7 separate regions of the Homo sapiens genome follow, and all the other regions are linked to region 1. Evidence: promoter capture Hi-C in 16 types of primary human blood cells and fetal thymus (Javierre and others, 2016). All regions are on one chromosome and are shown on one strand. Each heading gives the region's core, a stretch centred on a gene start or on the middle of the fragment in contact. The rest is flanking DNA. Distances are from core to core; before and after follow the strand shown.

Evidence for each region. Contacts are between HindIII fragments. The CHiCAGO score rates a contact against its expected background, and 5 or more counts as called.
Region 2: a fragment that was not itself captured here is called in contact with the fragment with the promoter of PECR in region 1 in 1 of 17 cell types (activated CD4 T cells); the score reaches 5.7 in activated CD4 T cells.
Region 3: a contact is called between a fragment that was not itself captured here and the fragment with the promoter of PECR in region 1, in 3 of 17 cell types (neutrophils, activated CD4 T cells and total B cells). The highest score is 7.2, in neutrophils.
Region 4: a contact is called between a fragment that was not itself captured here and the fragment with the promoter of PECR in region 1, in 1 of 17 cell types (neutrophils). The highest score is 6.1, in neutrophils.
Region 5: a contact is called between a fragment that was not itself captured here and the fragment with the promoter of PECR in region 1, in 1 of 17 cell types (neutrophils). The highest score is 6.7, in neutrophils.
Region 6: a fragment that was not itself captured here is called in contact with the fragment with the promoter of PECR in region 1 in 7 of 17 cell types (neutrophils, activated CD4 T cells, naive CD4 T cells and 4 more); the score reaches 14.1 in neutrophils.
Region 7: a fragment that was not itself captured here is called in contact with the fragment with the promoter of PECR in region 1 in 1 of 17 cell types (activated CD4 T cells); the score reaches 5.7 in activated CD4 T cells.

The regions. Positions count from the first base shown.
Region 1 is chr2:216,080,221-216,083,729 of GRCh38, reverse strand. It overlaps PECR (peroxisomal trans-2-enoyl-CoA reductase), which reads left to right and starts at 1,921. Exons shown (of 8, transcript NM_018441.6): 1 at 1,921-2,112. The coding sequence starts at 1,989. TMEM169 (transmembrane protein 169) reads right to left here and starts at 1,811. Exons shown (of 3, transcript NM_001142311.2): 1 at 1,751-1,811. RefSeq lists a silencer at 1,710-1,969 and enhancers at 2,160-2,209, 2,240-2,319. The HindIII fragment of the contact is 11,582 bases long and covers 1-3,509 here.
Region 2 is chr2:216,512,808-216,516,316 of GRCh38, reverse strand. No RefSeq gene overlaps it. Among named protein-coding and RNA genes, the nearest start is that of RPL37A, 16 kb to the right of the region's middle. The HindIII fragment of the contact is 4,644 bases long and covers 1-3,509 here.
Region 3 is chr2:216,490,347-216,493,855 of GRCh38, reverse strand. All of the region lies in intron 1 of RPL37A-DT (RPL37A divergent transcript), which reads left to right. Among named protein-coding and RNA genes, the nearest start is that of RPL37A-DT, 6.7 kb to the left of the region's middle. RefSeq lists an enhancer at 1,230-1,289. The HindIII fragment of the contact is 1,159 bases long and covers 926-2,084 here.
Region 4 is chr2:216,451,525-216,455,033 of GRCh38, reverse strand. The region is part of intron 12 of SMARCAL1 (SNF2 related chromatin remodeling annealing helicase 1); the gene reads right to left. Among named protein-coding and RNA genes, the nearest start is that of SMARCAL1-AS1, 41 kb to the right of the region's middle. The HindIII fragment of the contact is 1,621 bases long and covers 1,170-2,790 here.
Region 5 is chr2:216,433,089-216,436,597 of GRCh38, reverse strand. It overlaps SMARCAL1 (SNF2 related chromatin remodeling annealing helicase 1), which reads right to left. Exons shown (of 18, transcript NM_014140.4): 9 at 1,102-1,260. Among named protein-coding and RNA genes, the nearest start is that of SMARCAL1-AS1, 22 kb to the right of the region's middle. The HindIII fragment of the contact is 9,837 bases long and covers 1-3,509 here.
Region 6 is chr2:216,398,231-216,401,739 of GRCh38, reverse strand. All of the region lies in intron 1 of SMARCAL1-AS1 (SMARCAL1 antisense RNA 1), which reads left to right. It overlaps LOC107985984 (a long non-coding RNA gene), which reads right to left. Exons shown (of 3, transcript XR_001739880.2): 3 at 1,992-2,332. Among named protein-coding and RNA genes, the nearest start is that of SMARCAL1, 12 kb to the left of the region's middle. The HindIII fragment of the contact is 687 bases long and covers 1,662-2,348 here.
Region 7 is chr2:216,366,588-216,370,096 of GRCh38, reverse strand. MARCHF4 (membrane associated ring-CH-type finger 4) reads left to right here. Exons shown (of 4, transcript NM_020814.3): 1 at 1-352. Among named protein-coding and RNA genes, the nearest start is that of MARCHF4, 4.1 kb to the left of the region's middle. The HindIII fragment of the contact is 1,519 bases long and covers 832-2,350 here.

The sequences.
Region 1 (3,509 bases), core at 672-3,171:
CCTTCTGACTGTTCATCCTGCAACTTCCTTGCAGCTGAGGAATGGCACCTTGTCATCCTCAGTAGGCATAACCGGTTTGCAGGCCCCAGTCCCTGTTTCACTGGAAGACATCAGAATCCCACTCTCAGTCCGCTCAGCAGCCACACGGAAGCTGCAGCACAGCCAGCTTCCCACTGACCCACCCTGGCACACCTCTAAGAATCTATAGGTCCAGACCAGGGCATAAATCATGTTAAGTTATATCTTCAATAAAGTTATCATTTAAAAGAATTTAAAGTGTCCCCACCCACAAGAAAGAAAGTCTGGACTTCTCTTGAATAAGATACCCCTCAGAACTGAATCAATATTTCTTTTCCTTAAAAAAAAACACCTTGTCATTGGGATCAAACCAAGAGGAGTTATATGTTTCTGCAACAACACTTTGAGCTTTCCTGTTTGAATTTACTTTGTTTTAAAGGAGGTGATGGCGTTGTAATTTTAAAAATTTGGTCCTAACTACAGAATTGACTTAAGTAGTAGAGTTAAGTGATTCCTGGATAAACTATCTAGCAAATGGTAACCAGGAGATTTATTCCTTTCTTTAACGAGTGTAGATTTGAATCTGTCAGCAACAAAGATAGAGGGAGAAGTGATTCTAAAAAGAGATCAGAGAAGGACAAGAGGATGGAGCAACAGGGAAGTGTAGCTGTCCAACAAGAACTGCAGCCTCGCTGGTGGGTGGGACCTGGTGGAGGAAGTGATGGTCTGATTCCTCTGTCAACCAGACCCATTTCCAATTGGCTTTGTGAATCCTAGGTGGTAGGTCCAACAAAAGGATGATGGCATTTATTTGCCTTTATATTATTTTAATACCTGTCCGGGGAAAATGCAACACTCTGACAACAGCCTTAGAAATAGCATCCCATCTGGATTGTTAAGACCACAGCAACTGGCACATTCGACCAAGTTCTTAGGGTGAAGTCTCAGTAGGCCAGTCCAGGTGTAATCTCACTCTGGTGGGTTCAGAGCGGGAAGCAAGATGAAAAATAAGGAGCAGATCTGAATAATAAATCACTGTTACTGGGCACCATAACACAGACGAGAAATTTTCCCCATCCTCAGCGGGCTCACCCTCCTGCACAAGGAATGAACTACAGGACATGATCTCAAACACCTACAGATGCATCTTGCAGGAAGCGTGCACCCTTCAAGGAAAGATCCTCTTCTGGACTCGCTATGCAGCTCAGCTGAAATGGATCAGGTCTCAAACCTGGTAAAGATGATCTTTCCCCTTGATTCTTGGGTGGGGAGTGGGAGGTGAGACGGAGGTGGGCCTGAGTTTATTTTTTCAAATCGTTTATTCTCTTGGTTCTGTGGAAAACTGCAACCGCATCTCCTCTTCCCCTTCACTCTCTTTCCCGGGCTCCCTCCCGAAGGATGAAAGGATCTGAAAGCCGCATTTCTCCCCCTCAGCTAAGCCTGCCCTTTCTCCCCTTCCCAGCCAGCGGCACACAGCACCTGGAGCCACAGCATCGCCGACGTCCGACCCCGGCAGGCGGGCGCAGCGAGGGCGCCGAGCAGCAGCCTTTCTTTTTCCAGCTGCACTGGAGATTTAATTTTAATTAATCGTGAGAGCTTCAGCCCTGAGGATTGAATTTTTGAAATAGAGCACACCCTGCTTGTTTCTTTCTTCTTCTTTTTTTTTTTTTGCATTTCCCTTCCACCCTCCCCAATGGCATCGAAATTTAAAGAAACGAACGAGCAGTCTCACCCACACCTGCCCAGGGACCGACGCTGGCGGAGGTTGCGGACAGCCGGCGGGGAGCGGTTCTGCTCCGGGAGGATGCGGCTTTGCCGCGGCCGGCGGGCGGGGCGGGGCCGGGCCGGGGAGGGTGCGGGGTTCTGGTGGTCACGTGGGCTCGAGCACCGCCCTGTCCGCCCGCCCGCCTCGAATGTCCCTGAGACCCAGAAGGGCCTGCGCTCAGCTGCTCTGGCACCCCGCTGCAGGGATGGCCTCCTGGGCTAAGGGCAGGAGCTACCTGGCGCCTGGTTTGCTGCAGGGCCAAGTGGCCATCGTCACCGGCGGGGCCACGGGCATCGGAAAAGCCATCGTGAAGGAGCTCCTGGAGCTGGGTACGTGAGCGGGCCGCTGGTGCAGAGAGGTGGCTGTGGTGACCTGGGGTAACCTGGAGACGGGAGCCAGGAGCTCTCGGCGGGGCTGAGGGAGTGTGGAGCTGCAGAGCAAAGACGGGGCAGGTGTGGGCGAAATTACGACCACCAGGGAGACAGAAGAGAGCAGCTCTTCCTAAGGAATTGTGGAGCCACTCGTTAAAAACTGAAGAGACCACTCAGGCCAAAGAGACTGTGCCCCAGGTAGGCAGTAAGAAGAGCAGTGAAACATGCTGTGCAATTAGTTTTATATTCAGATTTAAAATTAATCCATTCTATATGCTTAATGTGAGTGATTAGGAAACGTGGGAAGACTTCATTTAACTGGAAAAAGTTGTGAACATAGTGAGTCTCTCATAGTATCTTCTCACATCTCTTAACCACAGCAAGGAAATATGCTGAATATTTACCTTAACTTGGGTGAAGGAAGGCCTTTGTAAACACATAAGTGAGGGAATAAACCACAAAGGAGAACATAAATCAATCTACCTGTATGAAAGTGTAAATCCTCATTGAATTAAAAAAATATATAAAGTTTAAAGGCATATGAAGAAAAATATTTGCAACATAAGATAAATTGTTTGTTGGTTTTGAGATAGGGTCTCACTCTGTTGCCTACGCTGGTCTCGAACACCTGGGTTCAAGGGATCCTCCTGCCTTGCCTCTGAGTCCTAAAGTTTTGGGATTACAGGCTGAGCCACTAGATTCGGCCAACAGCCTTATACATAAAGAGCTCTTACAAATAAAGAAAAAATCCAACACACTGATAGAAAAATTAGACTAATGGTATGGACTAAGCGTTCCAAAAGAAGAACTACAGACAGGCAAGAAACATATGAAAAAATAATCAACTTTATTGGTAATAAAATATGAAACAGTAAGATTTAACTTTTCTAACAAAATTTTGAAATGTTGGGAAAAATTAAAGTGTTGATGCAGGAATGAGAAGGCAGGAATGTAAATTATTACAAACTTTCTGGAAGGCAATTTGGAAAAAAAGATCCAAAAACCTTCACAATGTTTATGCTCTATGACAGTAATTCCTTTTTCAGGAATTTAAGGAAACGGAGTCAAGCAAAGATTTTCATGCAAGGATGTAGTCTTGAGTAGTGAAAAAATGGAAATTACCTAAAAATCCAATATAAGGAAAATAGTTAAATCAATAACAATGAAATATAATGCTTCCGTTTAAATATCTTGCTATTGGTCCTGGCGCAGTGGCTCACGCCTGTAATTCCAGCACTTTGAGAGGCCGAGGCGGGCAGATAACCTGAGGTCAGGAGTTTGAGACCAGCCTGGCCAACATGGTGAAACTCCATTTCTACTAAAAATACAAACCAGGCATGGTGGCGTACACCTGT
Region 2 (3,509 bases), core at 285-2,784, 430 kb before region 1:
AAACAAAATGGAACAGGCAGGCTTCAGGAACAGAAAACAAATCACAAAGGTGTTGGTTCTTGTACAGTGTGAAAAGTCTATTTTTTTAAAAAAAGATGAGCATTGGACAGGCGTGGTGGCTCATGCCTGTAATACCAGCACTTTGGGAGGCCAAGGCAGATGGATCACTTGAGGTCAGGAGTTCAAGACCAGCCTGACCAACATGATGAAACCTCATCTCTACTAAAAATACAACAACAAAAAAAAATTAGCTGGGTATAGTGGTGCACGCCTGTAATCTCCTGTAACTGAGAGGCTGAGACAGGAGAATCACTTGAACCCGGGAGGCAAACATTATAGTGAGCCGAGATCATGCCACTGCACTCCAGCCTGGGCGACAGAGCAAGACTCCATCTCAAAAAAAAAAAAAAAAGATGGTTAGCATCTATTACTGCTACCTCTTGAGTGCTGAAACATTTCTTAACATTTTAAGTTTTGCTTGATAGAGATTTCTATTATTTAGAAATTAACAAATTCACGTTTTCCAGCTTATGATGATTCCAACTTGCTGGGTCGTCTTGTTCATTGCCATTGCTTTTTTTTTTTTTTTTTTTTTTTTTTTTTTTTTTTTCAGATAGGATCTGGCTCTGTCGCCCAGGCTGGAGTGCAGTGGTGCAATCTCGGCTCAGCTCACTCCAACCTTTGCCTCATGGGCTCAAGCCATTCTCCCACCTCAGCCTCCCAAGTAGCTGGGACCACAGGCGCATGCCAGCACACCTGGTTAATTTTTCTATTTTTTGTACAGACAGGGTTTCGCCATGTTGCCCAAGCTGGTTTTGAACTCCTGGGCTCAAGCAATCTGCCCACCTCCGCCTCTCAAAGTGCTGGGATTACAGGTGTGAGCCACCATAGCCAGCCCCTTGATTTTCTCTAGTCAGTGTTTCTCTAAGTTCTTCAATTAATTGTTCAATTTGCACCTCAAGAATATTTTCAGAGCCATTGCCACCTACTTATCTAGTGTTTCATATCAATGCCCCAGAATTGCTGAAAAATCATGCACGTTTTCCATATGTTTAACAATATATATGTCCTTCTTTGTCTCTAGTAATGCTTTTTTGCCTTTAAGTCCACATTGTCAGATATTAACACAGCTTTCATTTCATGGATCATTATTTCTTAAATGCCTGTTATATCTTTTTCCATCCTTTTACTTTCACTCTTTCGGTATCTTTATAACTTTGGTGAGTCTGTTTCCTTATATTTTATTTTTATATCTGATTCCTTGTGCTTTAGGTTTTTCTTTAATCCTTATACTTTGGGTATGTAATCCAATTTGACTATATCTTTAATTGACACACTTAGTCTATTTGTATGCAAAGTTATTACTGGCACATTTATATATATAATATGTATATTATATACGTGTGTATATATACATGTGTACACAGGCATATGTTACATACAATATGTAATATTGTAATACACATGTAATATGTACTATATTATATATATTACAAATGTATAAATTTAGATATAAATATATATAAATGTGCCTATATATATATGTGTGTGTGTGTATGTATATACATGTGTGCACAGGTACGTTTAAATCTACCTTACTAGGTACTACTTGTCTTACAAATTCTTTTTCTCTCTCCTCTGTTTTTCAATTCTATTTCCATTGTATTGTTATATATTACTTTCTATTCTTTTCATGATTATCAGAGATTGCAACATATACTAACTTTGTAGTTTGACTTCTTCCAGAACAATGCAAGAACCTTCGAATATTTTAACACTATTTACCCTTTCCCAATTTATATGCTGCTGTAATACATTTTCGTTTCACTCCCCAAAGTTGTTGCTGCTACTATTCATGTGGTCTAAATTCACTTGTATTTACTGACATAGTTCCCGTTTGTTGACTGCCACTCCTTCCTTCAAGTCTCATCCATGGATTATTTGCCTTCTGTGTGATGTGTGGGTGTGCTAGTGATCAATTCCGTCAGTATTTTATTGGTGGTGGTGGCAGAGGTAACTGTCTTTGTTTCACCTTCATATTCTGATGTTATAATTGCTGAGTACAGAACTTGAAGCACTTTCAAAGTATAACTCTATTTTCTTCTAGATTCTATGGTTGTTAAGAAGTTAACTGTTAGTGTTACACCTTTTTTGCTACTAGCTGCTTTTATTATGCTCTTTTTCTCTGGGATTCAGTAATACTATGACATTCTTAGGTGTAACTTTTAAATTTTTATTTTGTGTAAGTTTACAGGGATACTTTAAACTGTGGCTTGGTATCTTTCATTGGTTTTGGGGGAAAAAAAGCCATTATCATCTCTCCTTTCTCCTGTGGGACTCCAATTATATACTATAACTGAGGCCAGGCATGGTGGCTCACACCTGTAATCCCGGCACTTTGGGAGGCTGAGGAGGATCGCTTTAGGCCAGGAATTTGAAACCAGCCTGGGCAATATAGCAAGAAACCAGCCCGGGCAACATGGCAAGATCCAATCTCTACTACTATTACTACTAATAATAATAACAATAAGCCGGGCATAACACACAGTAGCTTCTGGCCTAGCTACTCGGGGGGCTGAGGCCAGAAGACCACTTGAGCCCAGGAGTCCCAGGCTGCATTGAGCTATGATTGTGTCACTGTACTCTTGCCTGGGCAACAGAGGAGACTGTCTCTAAAAAGAAAAGAACTCTTAACTAGCTCCTATGTCTTGTACACGTATTTGTTCTTTTCCTTTTTTGGTGCTTCTTTCTGGATATTTTCTTTTGATATGGCAAGGTATCTGAAGCACAGAGCTGAAATTATTGGATGGTAAAGGTGATAATCTGGAGAGACCACCTTTTCTGCCTGCTGGTTCAGCAGTAGAATGAGCTCAAAGTGATCAGAGAACTGACTCAAGATTTCAATTTAAATGGAACCAAGGTTGAATTCCCTGAGAGAAACATTACTTCCTTAGGAACTAGGACCTCCAAAGTCACCAAACTCAAAAGCAGGTCAAAAGCGGGGGAAATAAAAATGCTTTCAGTGGGTTAACTGGCAGAATTTTCAATGTAGTAAGTTCCACCTCCATCACTTGATTTCTTGACCTATCCATTCTGGCTATGGAAGAGGTAGCACTATATACTGATAGATTTAAGGTATAAACTACATCTTGTAGGACAGTACCTTAAACTCTATATGGTATGGGATATCACACTGATGGATAAGGCATTCTGCAAGCCCATGAATGGTAATGCTGGCAGATACACTGTAGGCAAGAGACAACTCCATACCCATAATACATGTCTATCCCTGGGATGACAAACTGCTGCCCTTTGCATGATGGGAGACATCTAATGTACACTTAGGGAATAGTGTCACATTAGCTGCTCAGCATAGGCCTCTTTTGTTGCAGTTCTATCCACATATCTATGCTTGAAACATCCTTGTGTTCAACCTTGAAGAAGTATCCAGCCTTCCATTCTTGTTCCTTCCAAATCTCTGGCCAGCTTGTACGAACCCATTAGCCATT
Region 3 (3,509 bases), core at 256-2,755, 410 kb before region 1:
CTCAGGAAGATAAAATAACTTCCATGAAGTGTCTAGTGAACATTTTAAAATAGTGGCCAGTATGTTTGTTGAGATGCTGCTGCTGCTGCTGCTGCTACCTGATTTCAACATCTCTTTCTGCCTTTTCAATCCTCTCTCCTCTTCTGCCATACTCAAGGAAGTACAGAAGATCTGCCTTCTTCTTTCCCTTAAAAATATGCCCATCTCTTTTCTCCTTAATTTCTTTAGCTTGGACACAATGAAACCACTACAGTCATGGTAACTGATGCCGCTTGAGGCCCACAAAGGGAGTGAGATGTGCCCAAGATGTTTCTCTTCCACCACAGGCCTCATGCACCCTCTGCCCCCATAGGTTAGGGTGGAAGATGGCAAGGGGCCAAGGGAACAAGTCCCTCTTCCCTCAGAAGGGAAATGCACTGCATTTCAGGGATGTTATCTGGAAAGCTCTCCACCCAAGCAATGCCTGCCTCCAGAAAACTATAAATTAAAACAAAAATATATCCATGTTGATACAAACAAAGGAGACTAGTGGAAGGAGTCTTAAACAAATGCTCACCATGATCCTCCCTTTTCAGACTGTGCCTCTTGGCCACACAGGATGGTGCTCAATTGAGCTGGGGAGTGGGTGAGTCAGCTTCATGCTGGGGCAGTCCAGGCAGAGCTGAGGTGAGCCATCCTGGGCTGGCACTAGAGCCTAATTCAGATCATCATTTAGCAAATGTGCTGCCTCCCCCACGCCCTCCGCTGCAGAGCCTCCTACGTCTCTGGCCTTCAGGGGGGTCTGAGAGAGAGAGCAAGAGAAGAGGGAATGCATGAGTAGGAATGCAGTAAGCGGCTGAAAATGAGACACTCCATAATAGGAGGAAATTGTTCATGTTCAGAGCAATTTTGTCAAAACTGAACAATTATCTTTAAATAGCAAGCTTGAGGATGTACAAATAGCACTCATGAAATCAGCTCTGAGTGACTTCAGAGAATCGGCCCTCTCCTAAAGTCTCAATTTGTCTTTTCTGTGGGCTCATAAATTTCCATCCCTATTAGAGTACCATCCGGTGTGGAGAATGTTAACTATAATGTGTCCCCATAAAAGACTCAGTAAAAATCACTGCTGGCTCACCTCTGCTCTTAAGGAGCCCTCAACATTCACTCTTTGCCTTTAGAAAAATAAATAAGTTAAAAGTCACCTCCAGAGAGGAGTTCTTGTAGCTGTTAACCAGTTCTCTTGGGGCATATGGAACATTTTATTCTTGAAAGAAATCTGAGGTGCAAGCATCATTCCAAATTCATCTTGTGCTGGAGACAGAAAGGGTTTATTGGGGCGTGGTTCCTTCACTTCATGCCTCAAGAGAGCCTGCTCTCCACAAAGCCCCTGGGGGCCACAGACAAGAGTGGGGCCTGCACAGCATTGTTGAGAGTCCCGTGAGGCCAGAGCCACAGGCAAGAGCTGACCCAGCAGGAAAGGTGAGGCCCTCCAAGGCAGTCCTGGATGCCCCGAAAGAATAAGAGTGTGGGAAATTGACTCAGGCAACCCCTCTTTCCTTTCCTCCTTCTCCCCTCAAATTCCATTTAAACTCGTTCTAGTTATTAATGGACCCGTCACAGAGCATTTACACAGGAAGTGCACACATAAAGACTGGAGTAGTTACTTGGCAACTCTTAAGTGGGATAAGGTATGTTAAAAGGAAAACTTTCAACAAATTAAATTTAACAGAGTTTAATTAAGCAAAGAATGATTTGTGAATTGGACAGCCCCCACAACCAGAAGAGGTCCGGAGCAGCTCCAGGGTTGCCACATGGTTGGTTCACATTTATGGACAGAACAAAGAAAGTAACATACAGAAAAGGGAAGTGAGGACAGAAAGAGCTGGATTGGTTGCATATTTGCCTTATTTGAACACAGTGTGAACGGTTGGCCACCTGTGATTGGCTGACATATGGCTGCGGTAATTGCCTGAGACTTGGCTACTTGTTACAAGAGTGGGTCCCAGTCTGTTTACCAATCTAGTTAGGTTATAGTTCACTCTGCACAGAGAAACCTTTAGGCGGACTTTAAAATATGTAACAAGGCAGCACTGGGTTAAGCTTAATTTAACGAGTAGCAGGAGGCGGAGGTTGCAATGAGCTGAGATCGCACCATTGCACTCAAGCCTGGGCGACAGAGACAGACTCTGTCTCAATAAATAAATAAATAAATAAATAAATCATAATTTAATGGGTAGATCAATATGAAACAATGGCCAAGTACATCATGTGAAGTGAGTCATTTTCAGTATGAAGAATTTGATACAGTTTTTGTAAAAACAGATTCTATGTGTATTTTACATATATTTGTATGCATAGAGATAAATTACAAATGGCTTTATCTCAAATTATTTAGTTATTACTTCTAGGAGGTAGGGCTGAGGGAGGGAGGGAGGAGAATGCAGGACTCTTATTTTTGAGCTTATACTTTTCTAGATGAATTTTTTTTTTTAGACAGAGTCTCTGTCTGTTGCCCAGGTTGGAGTACAGTGTCACGATCTCGGCTCACTGCAACCTCCGCCTCCCGGGTTCAAGCAATTCTCCTGCCTCAGCCTCCTGAGTAGCTGGGATTACAGGCGCCCGTCACCATGCCCAGCTAATTTTTTTGCATGTTTAGTAGAGATGGGTTTTCACCATGTTGGCCAGGCTGGTCTCAAACTCCTGACCTCAGTTCATCTGCCGCCTTGGCCTCCCAAAGTGCTGGGATTACAGGCGTGAGCCACTGCGCCCAGCCTTAGATGTATTTTTACATCCAGTTCATAATATTGGAAAGAAGGCACTGCAGAGCAGTAGGTGGAAGGACCGTCTTTTCCATAAGTGGTGCCGAGCTAACTGCATATTCATATGGAAAAAATTAACCTTGGCCTTACCTCACCCCATATACAAAAATAAACTGCAGGTGGATTGTAGATCTAAACATTAACGGCAAAACACAAAAGCTTCTGCAACATACTATTTTCTTTTTCTTTTTTTCTTTCTTTCTTTCTTTTTTTTTTTTTTGAGACGGAGTCTTGCTCTGTTGCCCAGGCAGTCTCGCCCTGTCGCCCAGGCTAGAGTGCAGTGGCACGATCTCGGCTCACTGCAACCTCTGCCTCCCGGGTTCAAGTGATTCTTCTGCCTCAGCCTCCCAAGTAGCTGGGACTATAGGCATGCACCACCACACCCAGCTAATTTTTGTATTTTTTTTTTTTTTTAGTGGAGATGGGGTTTCACCGTGTTGGTCAGGTTGGTCTCGAACTCCCGACCTCAGGTGATCCACTTGCCTCGGCCTCCCAAAGTGCTGGGATTACAGGCGTGAGCCACCACACCCGGCCTCACAACATACTATTTTCATAACCTTGGGGTCATGGTTACATGGATGTGTATTTTAAAATATTTTGTTAAACTAAATTGTTTTATGAACTGTTCTGTATATTATATTTTGCCCCCAAAAAAAGGAGTTAAAAAAGAGAAAAAGAGCCTCAAAATCTGTTGAATAGGGGGTGGGA
Region 4 (3,509 bases), core at 731-3,230, 370 kb before region 1:
TTTGCTAAGACCATTGGAAAAGCGCAGTATTAGGGTGGGAGTGACCCGATTTTCCAGGTGCCATCTGTCACAGCTTTGCTTGGCTAGCAAAAGGAATTCCCTGACCCCTTGCGCTTCCTGGGTGAGGCGATGCCTCGCCCTGCTTCCGCTCACGCTCGGTGTGCTGCACCCACTGTCCTGCAAACACTGTCCAACAAGCCCCAGTGAGATGAACCCAGTACCTCAGTTGGAAGTGCAGAAATCACCCATCTTCTGTGTCGCTCACGCTGGGAGCTGTAGACTGGAGCTGTTCCTATTCGGCCATCTTGGAACCGCCCCAAGATGATTCTTTTTTATAGTATAGTAATAAAAATAACAACTAACTCTCATATACCACTTATTACGGGCCAAGCAGTGTTCTAAGAACTAAATATGCATTAACTCATTTAATAATCAGCATTGCTATGAGGGAGGCACTACTTTACCACTGTGCAGATTAGGAAACTGAGGCAAAAAAAGTCAAATGAGTATACTTGTCACACTGCTACTAAACGGTAGAACCAGAATTTGTAGCACTTAAAAGTGCAGGCTCTGAGGCTCAAATATCTGGGCTGATGGTGAGAATTTAATGACGCAATACACGTAAAGCACCATGCCCAGCACAGAGCAAGTATTCAATAAATGTTACTGATTGTAAGTATTTTTCTTTATTTTTCAGATTTTATACAATAGATATCTATTTTAATGTGGGAGAAATCAATAGTTTCAGCTTTAAAAAAACTCCCCCAAACTGTGCAGACCTAATACTCTCTATTAATGATCTTACTTCTTTTGCCAGCTACTGGCCAGGAAATTTTAAATAACCTGCATTCTTTGTTCCTGACTAGACCTTAATTAAATTAGATCCAATGGAGTTTTTAAATTTTTCTACATTGGAAATTTGAGTGGATTGTCAAATGGCAAGGGTGAACTGATATTGTTACCAGGAAATCTGTATGGACTTGTTCCATTTCTCTGTTACTGGTCTTGAGGATGAAAAAATGGCTTTAGACAAAAGATGATTACAGTCAGCTTTCCTTTGCCTGTGAAGCGATATCCATTATTTCAGCTGAAAAAATGAGAAAAGTCTTTGATTATACATTACATTCTATAAATTGGCTCCTTCACCTTGGCTCCTGTGATATAAAGCTTTTTAAGAAATGTATTCTTCCAGATGGAAAGGTGTGAAGGAACAAAGAATCAATTCTTGACAGGCAGGTCAGCAGTGCTTGGCTGGAGTCACCATGATTTGCAAAATTGCAAGGAAACTTGGGACTAAAAAGTAACTTAAAAAACTGGTGGCAGTGGAGAGAGGGGACTTTCTATAGATCCACAGGGCCTCCTTATTCAACTAAAACCATAAAAAAAATAAGTCCCCATTTTAACCCTTCCAACTCAGGATTTCATAGCTGGCCAGGGTCTGGAAGACATGCCTATGGTCATCTAGTCCAGCCTCCAGCTGATGCTGGCTCCCTTCCTGAATTAAGTTAGAGCAATGATCCTGATCAGATCCATGGTTTAGAAATGCACTAAATCAATGGCTTTAGAAATCCAAAGGTTCTGATGGCCCAAAGCACAAACACACAAATCTGTTTTCTACTTGGATTTTCCATTATAAAAATTGATTTCTATTAAGACACAAAAAGGCATCAAGTTCTTAAGGAATTATTATCTGAAAGAATTTAGTGTCTGGCTTCAGCCATCACACTGATGGTAATCTGTACCAACTCAATCTCTATCTTTCAGGGATAAACGTTTAACTTTCCTAAGACTCCAAGGAAGCAGACAGCAACTCTCAGGTGCTGGACTGAGAAGAGCTCCGGGCTCTTTCTCAGCTGGATTCTTGAAGAATGACACTGCAATTTAGGCTTCATTTTCATCATCTGCAAAATGGAGTTAACACTGTGGTGTTTACAAAGCAAAGAGGATAATCACCCAGTAGGCAGGATTCTGGGCAACTGGCACTATCCTTATGTACTTTTCCACAACCAAAAGGGAGTTGTGGCTCCGTTTCTAAGCAAGAAAATATAAAAATATCCTCAAAAATACTGGATTTGTATAGCTACCTAAAGTTATAAAACACCCAACATTCCTAAATTCCATAGTACCTCCTAGTTAATTTCATAGCATCACCAACAAGCTCAGAAATCAAACTCTCAGGTGACATCTGAAATCATCTTTGAAAAGAGCCACTCCCTTTACTTGAAGAACTATACAAGTTGGCAGAAGTTTACAAAATGCTTTCAGATCTTGTTGCACTAAGCACAAAATTTCTACTGCTTTTCTTTTTTTCTTTTTGGCCATACTACACAATTCACAGTTGTGTTTCAACAAGTTAATGTGCTTTTCCTCCTTAATTCAAATGCCCACTAATTGCTTTTTCAGGTGTCTACCTTGGCTGTTCTCAAACTGGTTCAGGAGGTGAACCAGGTATTGGTGAGGGTGTTCTCTGGGGAATCTCACGAAACACTAACAGACTTACTTCCATCTCACACACACAAGGAACAACTTTGCTGGCAAAAAAAATAACATTTTATAAATATTCAGCTCTTTGCATCTAAAAATATTGCATGTCTGAATTTTTCCATTAATATTATATTTGCTATACCAGTTCACTGGTTTTCTTGTCTGGTAGAGTTCACCAGTAGACGAAAGTTATTAAGAAAAAGTTATAAGAAAAAACTTCAAATTGAGAAAAAATAATCTACTCATTGCATTTTTATCTCTAAAAATAAACAAAAGACCACCAAGATTGATTTTAGTGACAAAGCTTCCTGGTTTTACTCATGATTCCACTGAAATATAATCTGAGAACACTGGTCTATATGTCTACATCGATGTTGTTTAAGTTTGAAAACTCCACAATAAAGAGATGATGCCTGCTCACTTACTCCAGACCATCCAGATTATTATATGTAATACAGCATAAATTCAATACAGCTTGAAAATTTGCCAGTGCATCCTCTATCCTGTCATTTCTTAAAAGTTATCAATGAATCTTGCTCATCACATGGTAAAATAACATGAAAAACATGCATTCTGTCTCTTGTCATTCTTATTTATTTTGTAACCTCCCAGAAGGCTGAGATCTACATCTAAATATCTTTATACAGGGTAATATCAAGCCCAGATAATGCTTCATGATGTTGAAAAATATCAATGACTGTTATTTTCTTAGTAATGGGAATTACAAGGTTTTATCTAAGAGGACAGAAACAGAGCTGGTGTAGATTATAGCACTTAGCACAGTATGACACTAAAGACAGAAATAAAAGTGTTTGAAAAGATAAAACCATCATAGTGAAAACAGTCCTAAAATATAGGGGCAAGAGGCTTGGTTCTAGCCTCAGCTCTGTGGTGGAGCAGCTAAGAGACCCTGGGCAAACTGCAATCTCTGTGAGCCTCAGTTTCCCTCTCTGTAAAAAGGGGGATGCCAACTTCCTGCCAACCATAAATGCCTGTAATAGGGATTTAAAAGGTTAGGAGGATTT
Region 5 (3,509 bases), core at 713-3,212, 350 kb before region 1:
AGACTCATTACCTATATCACTTTGCAAAACTATCAACACTCAAGTTTGCTTATGCTAAGAACACAGTGTGGTTCTCATGTCCAAAACAGAATAATAGATCCCCTGAGGTCAGTAACGGTATCTTCTCCTTCCTTTCTCTAAGCTCCCACAATATTTGTGTGAGTTATGTAAATATACTCAGTACTGACAGAGATGGCTGGGTACCAAGTCTGTCTAGACTTTCCTTAGGAAGTATGTGAGGAGTTAAAAGTAGGAAAGCCTGCAATTGAAAGATATGTTGTCAAATCTGGAAGCAGGTCCAGTCAGACCTTCTTTAAAAAACAATTAGAGGCCGGGCAAGGTGGCTCATGCCTGTAATCCCAGCACTTTGGGAGGCCAAGGTGGGTGGATCACCTGAGGTCAGGAGTTCGAGACTAGCTTGGCCAACATGGTGAAACCCCGTCTCTACTAAAAATACAAAACTTAGCTGGGCGTGGTGGCAAGTGCCTGTAATCCCAGCTACTTGGGGAGCTGAGGCAAGAGAATTGCTTGAACCCGGGAGGCAGAGGTTGCAGTGAGCCGAGATCACGCCACTGCACTCCAGCCTGGGTGACAAGAGTGAAACTCTGTCTCAAAAAAAACAACACAGAAAAACCTCCAAAAAACAGTTAGAGTAAAAAGTGCTTTTGTGGGGTGGGGGTGTATCTTCACATTGGCTGGAAGAAAACTCAATTGTTTGAGTAAGATGGCACCAGATGTAGGCACACCCCCTTGCCGTCCAGGTTGTAGTACCCAGAGCCCCCAGGTGGCCTGGGGTCCACATGCTGGCCTCCATCCATGAGTCACGCTGGGAAAGAGATGAGCTAGAAATCCCCAGCAAAGACTAATTAAATCACAATTTCAAAAAAAGCTCCCTAAGAGATTCTAGTACGTAGCCAGAGTTGAGAATGGCTATTTGAGGGGAATGAATTTCCAGTTCCCCACAAAATAAAGACAGTGATTTCTATTCTTCTAGAAACTAAATGGGGCTCAAGGAGATTACAGACATGAAAGTTCTCAGAGCTTTTACAAAGAAAGTTTCCAGAGAGATAAAGTACTTAAAGACTTTGCCAAGTTTCTTACAATGATGACAACTTTAAAAGGGGTTTTTAGCTGTTTTTCCAACTTGCTAAGAAGGTCAAAGCTGACAATGTTGATCAGGCCAGCTGTCAGGCGGTCCTTCCCAGTCACCACGACGTTGATGCAATCTGGGCTCAGAGATGGCAGCCACCGAAGGAAGGCCTGTGGATGACAGGAGGGAACAAAGCTACAATGACCACCCAGCACAGCAGCTGTTGGTTGTGACAGCAGCAGTCTCATGCCCATCAACAGCCATCACCTCTACCTTCCTCTCACCTACCTGTGCCCCTTCACTTGCCACTAACAGGACACTCCCTTTTTTGTTTTTTTAAGAGTTGGGGGAGACGGGTGCGGTCGCTCACACCTGTAATCCCAGCACTTTGGGAGGCTGAGGAGGGCGGATCACCTGAGATCGGGAGTTTGAGACCAGGCTGACCAACACGGAGAAATCCCATCTCTACTAAAAATACAAAATTAGCTGGGCATGGTGGTGCATGCCTGTAATCCCAGCTACTCGGAAGGCTGAGGCAGGAGAATCGCTTGAACCCGGGAAGTGGAGGTTGTGGTGAGACGAGATCGCGCCATTGCACTCCGGCCTGGGCAACAAGAGAGAAACCTCGGGTCTCAGAAAAAAAAAAAAAAAAAAAATAGAGAGTTGTGTTGGTCTCACTTTGTTGCCCAGGCTGGAGTACAGTGGCACCATCACAGCTTACTGCAGCCTCAAACTCCTAGGCTCAAGTGATCCTCCCGCCTCAGCCTCCCAAGTTGCTGGGACTACAGGTGCACACCACCATACTTGGCTAATTTCTTTCTTTCTTTTTTTTTTTCAAAGAGATGGGTCTCAGTATGTTGTTCAGACTGGTCTTGAAGTACTGGCCTCAAGCAATCCTCCTGCCACAGCTTCCCAAGTTGCTGAGACTACAGGCCTGAACCACCATGCCTCGCTATCTCCCTGCCTTTGTCAACAGTCACTTCACAGTGTCTGGGTTTCATTTCTGTGATCTCTAACTAGATGGTAAGTTTCTGCAGGGAAAGAATGCGACTCTTTTTAAGAGGAATTTTATGAACGATGTAGCAGAGCCTGGTACACTGAAGGCAAATCATAAACATTTATTGATGATGACGAGACTACTTATGTCGATATTTCTACAAATCTACCTTCTCTCTCTGGCAATCTGAGCATCTCTAGCCAAACCCACCCAGGCATCTGGGTGCTCACCTGCCTCACATGGGGTGACACTGTTCAATACAGGGAGGGCTGGCCTTTTCTCTAACCTCAGGCTGGTCACCGTCTGGCTGACTCTTCCTAGAATTTCTGAGGGTGCTGTGGGAACCTAACGCACACAAAATATGTTCTGAAGATTACTTTCTACAGGCACTGGCAGAATTCACAAGACTTGGGAGGCCAAGGCAGAAGGATCACTTGACCTCAGGAGTTCAAGACCAGCCTGGGCAACATAATGAGACCCTGTCTCATTAAAAAATAAAATAAAAAATTAAAATTAAAAAAAAAAAGAACTCAGATCACCAGGACAGAAAAAAAACAAGGTGCACATTTTTTAGTGTTTTTTTTTTTTGCCATCTCTTCGGTCAGAATAGCACATCTGGGCCTTGGACTGACCGGCAGTAGGAGGAGCTGCCTCTTCTGCATGAATGGCTCATGGAGGCCTCAGGAAGAAGTCCCAGGCTGACGTCAGTGGCATAAAGCTAGAAAAAGCTGTGGACGATGGACCAGGTCTTCCTTCTTCACTGAGTTTGTTCATGGGCTTTTTATTCATTTCACAAAAGCACTCTGATTCCTGGATTTACAGCAAAAAAAGCTCAAGGGTGAGTGATACAGTTTTCTTGTCAGGCTCTGGATCCATAAAGCTACCTGGCAGACAGTGAACATCCCACTCACTCCCCCCTCTACAGAGTGCAAAACCCCTGAGTTGGGAAGTCAGAAGATGCCACATCAAGATCCGCCAGGGCTCCTCATTAAGAGGAAGCATGGAGCTTAACCTCTGAGATTCCATTTTCTCATCTATAAATGGGGTTACTATCTATTGTACCTACTGCACAGGACTGTCATGGGATTGAGGAAAATACAGGAGGTAAAAATATTTTAAAAATTAAGTGTGGGCCGGGCACAGTGGCTCCTGTAATCCCAGCACTTTGGGAGGCCAAGACAGGTGGATCACTTGAACCCAGGAGTTTGGGACCAGCCTGGGCAACATGGCAAAACCTCATCTTTACAAAAAGTACAAAAACTAGCCAGTCTCATAATCCAGTTTCAAAATAAATAAAAATTTTAAAAAACAATAAAAAAGAAAAATAAAAAAAAATTAAGTGTGGTACAGATGAAAAGTATTATTAGCAGGGCACAGAGGTCCCAGAAGTGCCTGCTGACAGATGAACACAAGTCTCTAAGC
Region 6 (3,509 bases), core at 756-3,255, 320 kb before region 1:
CATTCCCTTCCCAGCAGGCAGCCAATGTCATCCATTTCTTTTTTTAAAAAATTGTTTATTTTTAATTGACTTATAATAATCATGGATATAATTATTATATTTCAATTACATAATCAATTTCTTGCATATTTTTCTGGATATATTCTATGCACATTTAAGTAAAAACATTTATTTATCTTCCCTTTCATACAGATGGCAGTGTGCTATATACACTGTTCTGCACTTTTTGCATTTGTCTTGGAGTAAATTCATCTCTTTAAATTTTGTTTTTTCCATCTGTAATATGGAAATAATTGTACCTATCCCATAGACTTCCTGTTAGGATTACCTGAGATCATGTAAAGCACTTAGCTCATTGCCTGGAATACATTAAGTAATCAATAAATGTAAGTTATTATTCTATTAATGTTTAAAATATACTACAAAGCTACAATAATAAAACTAGTGTGATATTGATAACATATTAGCAGACTGATGAAACAAAGTAAGAAGCCTCTTCAACTTGGTCTTTATGATTTGTGTGCAAGATACTGTTGCCAACAGATGAAATACAAACACTAAAAAGAAAGTTTGTCTCAAGGAACTTAAAGACTAGGAGAAGAGAGAATACCTGTGTGGAAAATATAATAAAAAAAGAATTGTGGATAAGATCAGTGCAGTGGTGTGTGCCTGTAGTCCCAGCTGCTTAGGAGGCTGAGTCAAGAGGGTTGCTTGAGCCCAGGAATTCAAGGCCTTAGTGGGCTATGATTATGCCTGTGAATAGACACTGTGCTCTAGCCTGGGAAACATAGTGAGACTCCGTCTCTAAAAAGAAATCAATCAATCAATCACAGATAAATGGCCTTGGGGGTTTAGTGAGGAGCTCTGATGATGGAGACACAGGGAATACAGAATCAGGAAGGTTAAGCGGATGAAGTGGTGTCTGAACTGGCTAAGTAGAAATTTGGAATCCAGCAATAATAGGAAGATGGTGGTTATGGCAAGGATGATCCAATCTGATGGAAGCACAAATGCTGAGAAAAATCTAGTTAACCAAAATAATGTGTAAAAGAGTTTATTCTTTAACATAGAGTTATAGATTGGCAGGATGTTTTCCTATATGACACGATCTCTGGGGTCCTTTCTACAAGTCTGAACAAGTAAAAGAGAGCCAGAAGTCCCTTGGCGGGGGATAAGATGTGCATTTTGATTGAATTTGGCATCTCAATCTAACTCCTAACTGCATTAAAGGGGGAAAACATTATCAATATTAACAAAACTGATCCCTCATGAACAGACTCAAAGTCTAAATCTTTAGCTAGCACTTTATCAATAACATGTTCTAATTACATGTGAGGCTTTGAAAATATACCTCTGTGTGATAATTGCTGGAAAGCAGATTTTAATCCCAGGAACTTATAAATTGCAGTTGTAAAGATGCAATAGAGAGCTTATCCATTGACACTATCTAGTGTCATTTGCTTGCAACTGCAGATATTGACAGGACGCTGCTTGGAACAATGGGTGCCCTGTCCCCCTCTATGACCACCACCCCAGTTGATCAAGTGTATAAGTGACAGTTTATATGCAAAATGGTCCAAAGGCTACCTGATCACCCCCCAAGGCCACATGGGGCTTTGAGGAAACTGAATGCAAAGCCACGTGTTAGATAAAATAAAGCTTATATCTTCATCCCAGAAATTAAAAAGCCCCCTGGCAAAGTCAGCTTCCAGAAAAGCTGAGGCCTGAAAGAAGAACCAGTCCCCCAAAGCTCTATCATTGGATTGAATTGTTTCAGACCTGAGGAGGAGGGAGCTCCTGAAGCTGGGCCCACCCTGGGACATGGAGGGTGGGCTTCTTCTGCCATCTGCCACCTCTTTATTCCAATGCCTTCTCCTCTCAGTCTAGATTTCCCTGGGCCCCCAGTCCTCGCCCAACTAGTGTGTGCTGTTTGTGTGATCAGCAAATCATTTAGGGAAAAGCCTTTTAATTAAGAGGAGAGCAACAAATTATTAAGTCAGAGTCATTTATTACCCTGCCATCTGGCCAGACTTCCTTCTGGCCCCCCTTCTTCCTCAACCAAGCCTGCACAGACATATAAAGTAACAAAGAGAATGGAAAAAGAGGAGACTTCTTTCTGCCTGGACTTGGAAAGAACTGTCCAGCTCCTCCTGGAAGCAGGGTAAGGGTTCTAGGAGGACTTTTCCACACCCTTTGTATACTGTAGTAGCCAAGTCTTGGTTTTCCTCTCCTGTAGAACAGGGATGATGAGGTCTACCTTAGGGCTTCTGGATGCCTGGCCCAATGGCTGGTATAGTGGAGGCACTCAGGAAACAGAAGCTGAATCTGAAGCCTGCAAATTGGAAGCTTTGTTATGGATGGTGGCGTCAGCAGTAGTGGAGACAGTGATGGCTGGAGGGAGCCTACTAAATGTTTCCATCCTGCAAGCTCAGCTGGCTCTCCCTCTGTTGTGACCCACAGAGGTATTCCCTTGCTGTCTCCCTGCAAATGCCAGGGAAGCTCAGGAAATTCATGCCCACCCCTTGCTCCCGTCCCCAACCAAACCTAAATGCTGGGACATTATTCTAAGAGAAAGACAGCTGGAGACCACAGTATCTGGTTCAGGCATGATGAGAAGGACTGAGCAACACTTAGAGTAGGAAGAAGCTAAGGAATCACACATAGGGGTGTATTTCAATAGCCAACAACTCAGAGAGGACTATGCGGGATACATGATAAGACAGGCACTATTTCCTAAAAGCAAAACACCACAGTTATGACAGCTATGAATGAAAACTAATACAGGCATATTGGAGACTCAATTACCATGAGTGGTGTGGCAGTCAATGATGTGATTTTCCAAAAGAGTGAGCAAATCTGGTAAAGAAATTAACAACACAAACTCTAATCTTCCCTTAATTTACAGAGTAGTTTCATTCTTAGCATACAGTTAGTGCATATTAAAAATCATTTTTAAAAAGTCTCTCTGTTTACATATAAAATTGTTACTTTTTAAAGCTCAGATAGTTATAAGCAAGTTATAAACAACTCTGTAAATATCTAGTAGAACATTTGAAAATTGTGTGGAGCATAGGGTAAGTATATATGAGATGGTGAGATTGTCTCACAGATAGTAAAAGATTGAGCTGCCTGGGGTCCCAGCCTCTACTTGCCAGAAGTAAGCCCCTTACCCATCATTGGGGCAACCAAAAACACTCCACACTTTTTCAAAATGCTCCCTCGTGGGTGATCCTGTGCTAGACTAAAAATTGAAATGTGAATCAAACTAAATTAATGTTTAAAAAAACCTTACTTCGACACAATCAAGAAATTTTGAATTTGAATGGATACATGATGATTTGAAAGAATTTTTGTTTTGTTAGATATGATAATTGTCTTAGTCCATTTGTATTGCTGTAACAGACTACCACAGACTAGGTAATTTGTAAACCATAGAAATTTATCTGGCTCAGGGATCTGGAGGCTGGGAAGTCCAACATGGAGGAGATGCATCTGGCGAGGGCCTTCTT
Region 7 (3,509 bases), core at 342-2,841, 290 kb before region 1:
GCGCCCTCCTCAAGCGCCCCTGCCCATGCACGGCGACCCCCAGCCCCCCGGTTTGGCGGCCAACAACACCCTTCCGGCTCTGGGCGCCGGGGGGTGGGCAGGCTGGAGGGGCCCCCGAGAAGTGGTGGGCAGGGAGCCCCCTCCTGTGCCACCTCCACCCCCCTTGCCACCTTCTTCTGTGGAAGATGACTGGGGTGGCCCAGCCACAGAGCCACCTGCCTCGCTGCTCAGCAGTGCCTCCTCAGATGACTTCTGTAAGGAGAAGACCGAGGATCGCTACTCACTGGGCAGCAGCTTGGACAGTGGTATGAGGACCCCACTCTGCCGCATCTGCTTCCAGGGGCCAGAACAGGTGAGTCCCCTTTTCTCTTCTCCTGCTTCCTGTGGTATTTTCAGGTCTTGCAGATTGCTACTCGCCTGCTTGCCCTGGGGAACGGTTATATTGTCTTTAGTATGAGGACTCTATGTTTAAGAGCCCTCATTGATGTTTCTTGTGGTTAAGTTTGCCCAATGAGTGTCTGGTTCCTGGTGGAGCCTGTTTGGTGGTTCGTTTGTGTTCTAGGTTTTGCATTTTCCTTCCAATGCTAGTGTCTCCAATTCCAACTCCAAATTTTACAAACATCCTCAGAATAGAAGATCTAGAAACAACGGAGTGAAGAAACTTGGTGGTACATTCACACTGGTTGCCAAGATATCCTTTTATCTAACTTGTTGTTAGTAACATTTCGTCTAGCCCATCTTCAGTCCCATATCCCAACTTCTTCCTGCTCTGAGAGTATGCCGAGATCTTGTTCTCTTTTCCTTTTCTCATAGGTTGAAATCCAGTAAGCTTGTTCTTTTACTTTGGACAACTTCCTTTCATATCACGTTGACATCCTCAGCATTATGTTCTAGCAACTGAGGAGGAAATGGAGAGGGATTCTAGGTCCAAGACTATATGATTTGCTGAGACACTTCTTGGCAGACTCAAATTTTTCTATGTTGAAAACAGGCAGGTAAATGGGAATGAGAATGAGTTTAAGAGACTGACGTAGGCAATAAGGTATCTTGCTATTTCCCTTTTCAGACCTAAAAAGTGTGTTGACTTAGAAAATCCCTTAAATGCTCCCCATCCAGGATAGGGATGCCAACTCTCATATGCACCAGGGCTTTTCCAAGTCTGGCAGGTTTTCCCTACCCTATTCATTCAGATTTTCACAGACACCCCTCCCAAGTTCACCTACAATCTAGTATCAGCAATGCTGGATAGCATGTGTACATTCTTCAGGAACTATAGAATGTGGCAACACTCTCCAAAGAATCACAGATAGAAAGGCTCACGCAGTTAGTGATGCTGGAGAAGGAGTATTCAATTGCAAGGTGGGCAAGGTTATGTGTTCCTATCAGCCACTTCTTCAATAGTTTCCTGAAGTGCAGGGAGGATTTCTGGATACTCCTTGAGGAAGTGGCAGTGCAGTAGGATGCCATGCCAGGCTTTGACTGGCTCTGGTTCTTGCTGAGGGTGTGCTCTGTAAGATGCAGGCTTAGCTGGCATTTTCATTCATTTTCTTGCTTTGCTCTCAATGGACAAAGAACTCTGGGGACCAGTGATCCCTGGAGCTACAGCTTGGAATTATGAGGGGAAGTGATATAGATCTTAGTGTGAATAAATGTCTCTGAGAGGCTGGGGGCTGGGTTCTTCCATCTTAAGATTACCTAAGTATCCAATAAAGTGTTGTCCAGAGTTGAAAACTCCTGTTAGGAAAAATCCTCCAGAGTGCCTTCCCTTCATTCTTTCTCTCTACTTCCAGCACCAGGCTCTGGCAGAGCTATGGGGTAGAGTGGCTCGGCTGACAACAAGAGGGTGCCTCACTTTGATATCAGGATCTTGCCACCATCAAGTACTTCATACTCTCCAAAAGAAAGAATTATTTGGCTTCCTAAATTCCTAAGGCATTTCTTTTTTCTCCCATATGGGCTCAGGTCTGCATGTCACAGGGGCTTCTGAGAGTGTGGCTTCTGGCAAGAGCATTCTTGTCTCTAGAAAACAGCAGGACTTGGAGGTGCCCTGGGATAATATTTCCCCCACTGTGTGAACTTTTTCAAATAGCTTCATGCCTCTGGGCTGCTTTTCCAACTTACGTGATTTGGAGACACCTTTTCATGCCCCCCCCTCCTTTCCTCAGAGGTGTGTTGGGAGAATCCAGGAGAAAAGAAGTGTAAAAATATCTTGGAAGGAATTTATATATAATGAGCATGTATTTTGATAACAGAAAGCTGTATTTTATTGAAAAAAGAAAAAGAAAAAAATCATTGGCAATATTGTGAAATACCCTCATGTGATACAAGATCTGGTCAGAGGTTAGAAGCTTTCCTTTCTTGTTCATTATTTTGATGGGGTGTCATAAATAAAGCATTGAATAAAAAAGCTAACACCAGTAAAGGAATGGGCTCTATTATGTGGGAGGATTAGGGGGCCCTGTCTGCATTAAGACTGGATCAAATTAAGCACTTCCTGCATATGATTATTTTGTTTTGGGGGTTTACCTTATCTGTGCAGGAGCCAAGAGGCTTTAATGGGATTGTGTTATAGTAGTAATAACAGCAATGTGAGTACTGCATTAGATGTGGAGAACACAGTTTCCCAGTTTCTTCTCATTTTTTTTTTCACAGCATTTCTATGAAGGAGACAAAGGAGGGGAGATAAGGGAAACTCTAGAAAAGGAAGAGAGAGATAGAGAGGCAACAGCAGTGAAGGGGAGGGAGAAAGAGAGGGATAGAGAGAGAAGGAGGAGGAGGAGGGAGGGGGAGAGAGAAAGAGAGAGAGACACGCTAAAATTTCTGTGTTTTAATTTCTGTTCAGGGAGAGAGCTGTCCAGCAATTGTCTACACATGGCCCTGGAGGAAATGTGGGCTGCAATCTTAGTAGCTGAATGTCTTGGTGTTATCTCTGCCCAAACAAAGGAATTAAGCAGACCCCCACCTCCCTGCTCCCCATCACCCCAATCATTTACTACTGCTATAGGGGCTAAACGACTGCCAAAAAATGAGTATTTGATCTTTTCCTGCCAACAGCTTGCAATATTTGTGGTGAGGAACAGCAAGAGAATCCAGCTAGTTTCACCTTTGTACCTATCTACAAAGGACTTTGCATCCATTCATTGGTGCATGCGTTTATTTAACAAATTTTTCGGGGCACCTGCAGTGTGCCCGTTGCTGTTCCAGGCATGAGTATTCAGGAGTGAACAAAATAGATGAGATTTCTGCTCTCCTGAAGCTGACATTCTAGTAGAGACACATAAATAGACAAGTAAACTAGTAAGTAAATAAGGTGATTTAAGCTCTGTGATGAAATTTAAAAAGGAAAATGAGTTAGAAAGGAATGAAAGGGAGGCAGTGGGAAAGGTACCACCACATTAGATAGGGTAATCAGGAAAAGTCTTCCTAAGAATGTGTCATCTGAGCTGACACCTAAATGATGAGAAGGGCCCAGCAATGCATAGGTCTAGGGGAAGAGAATTTCAGGTGAA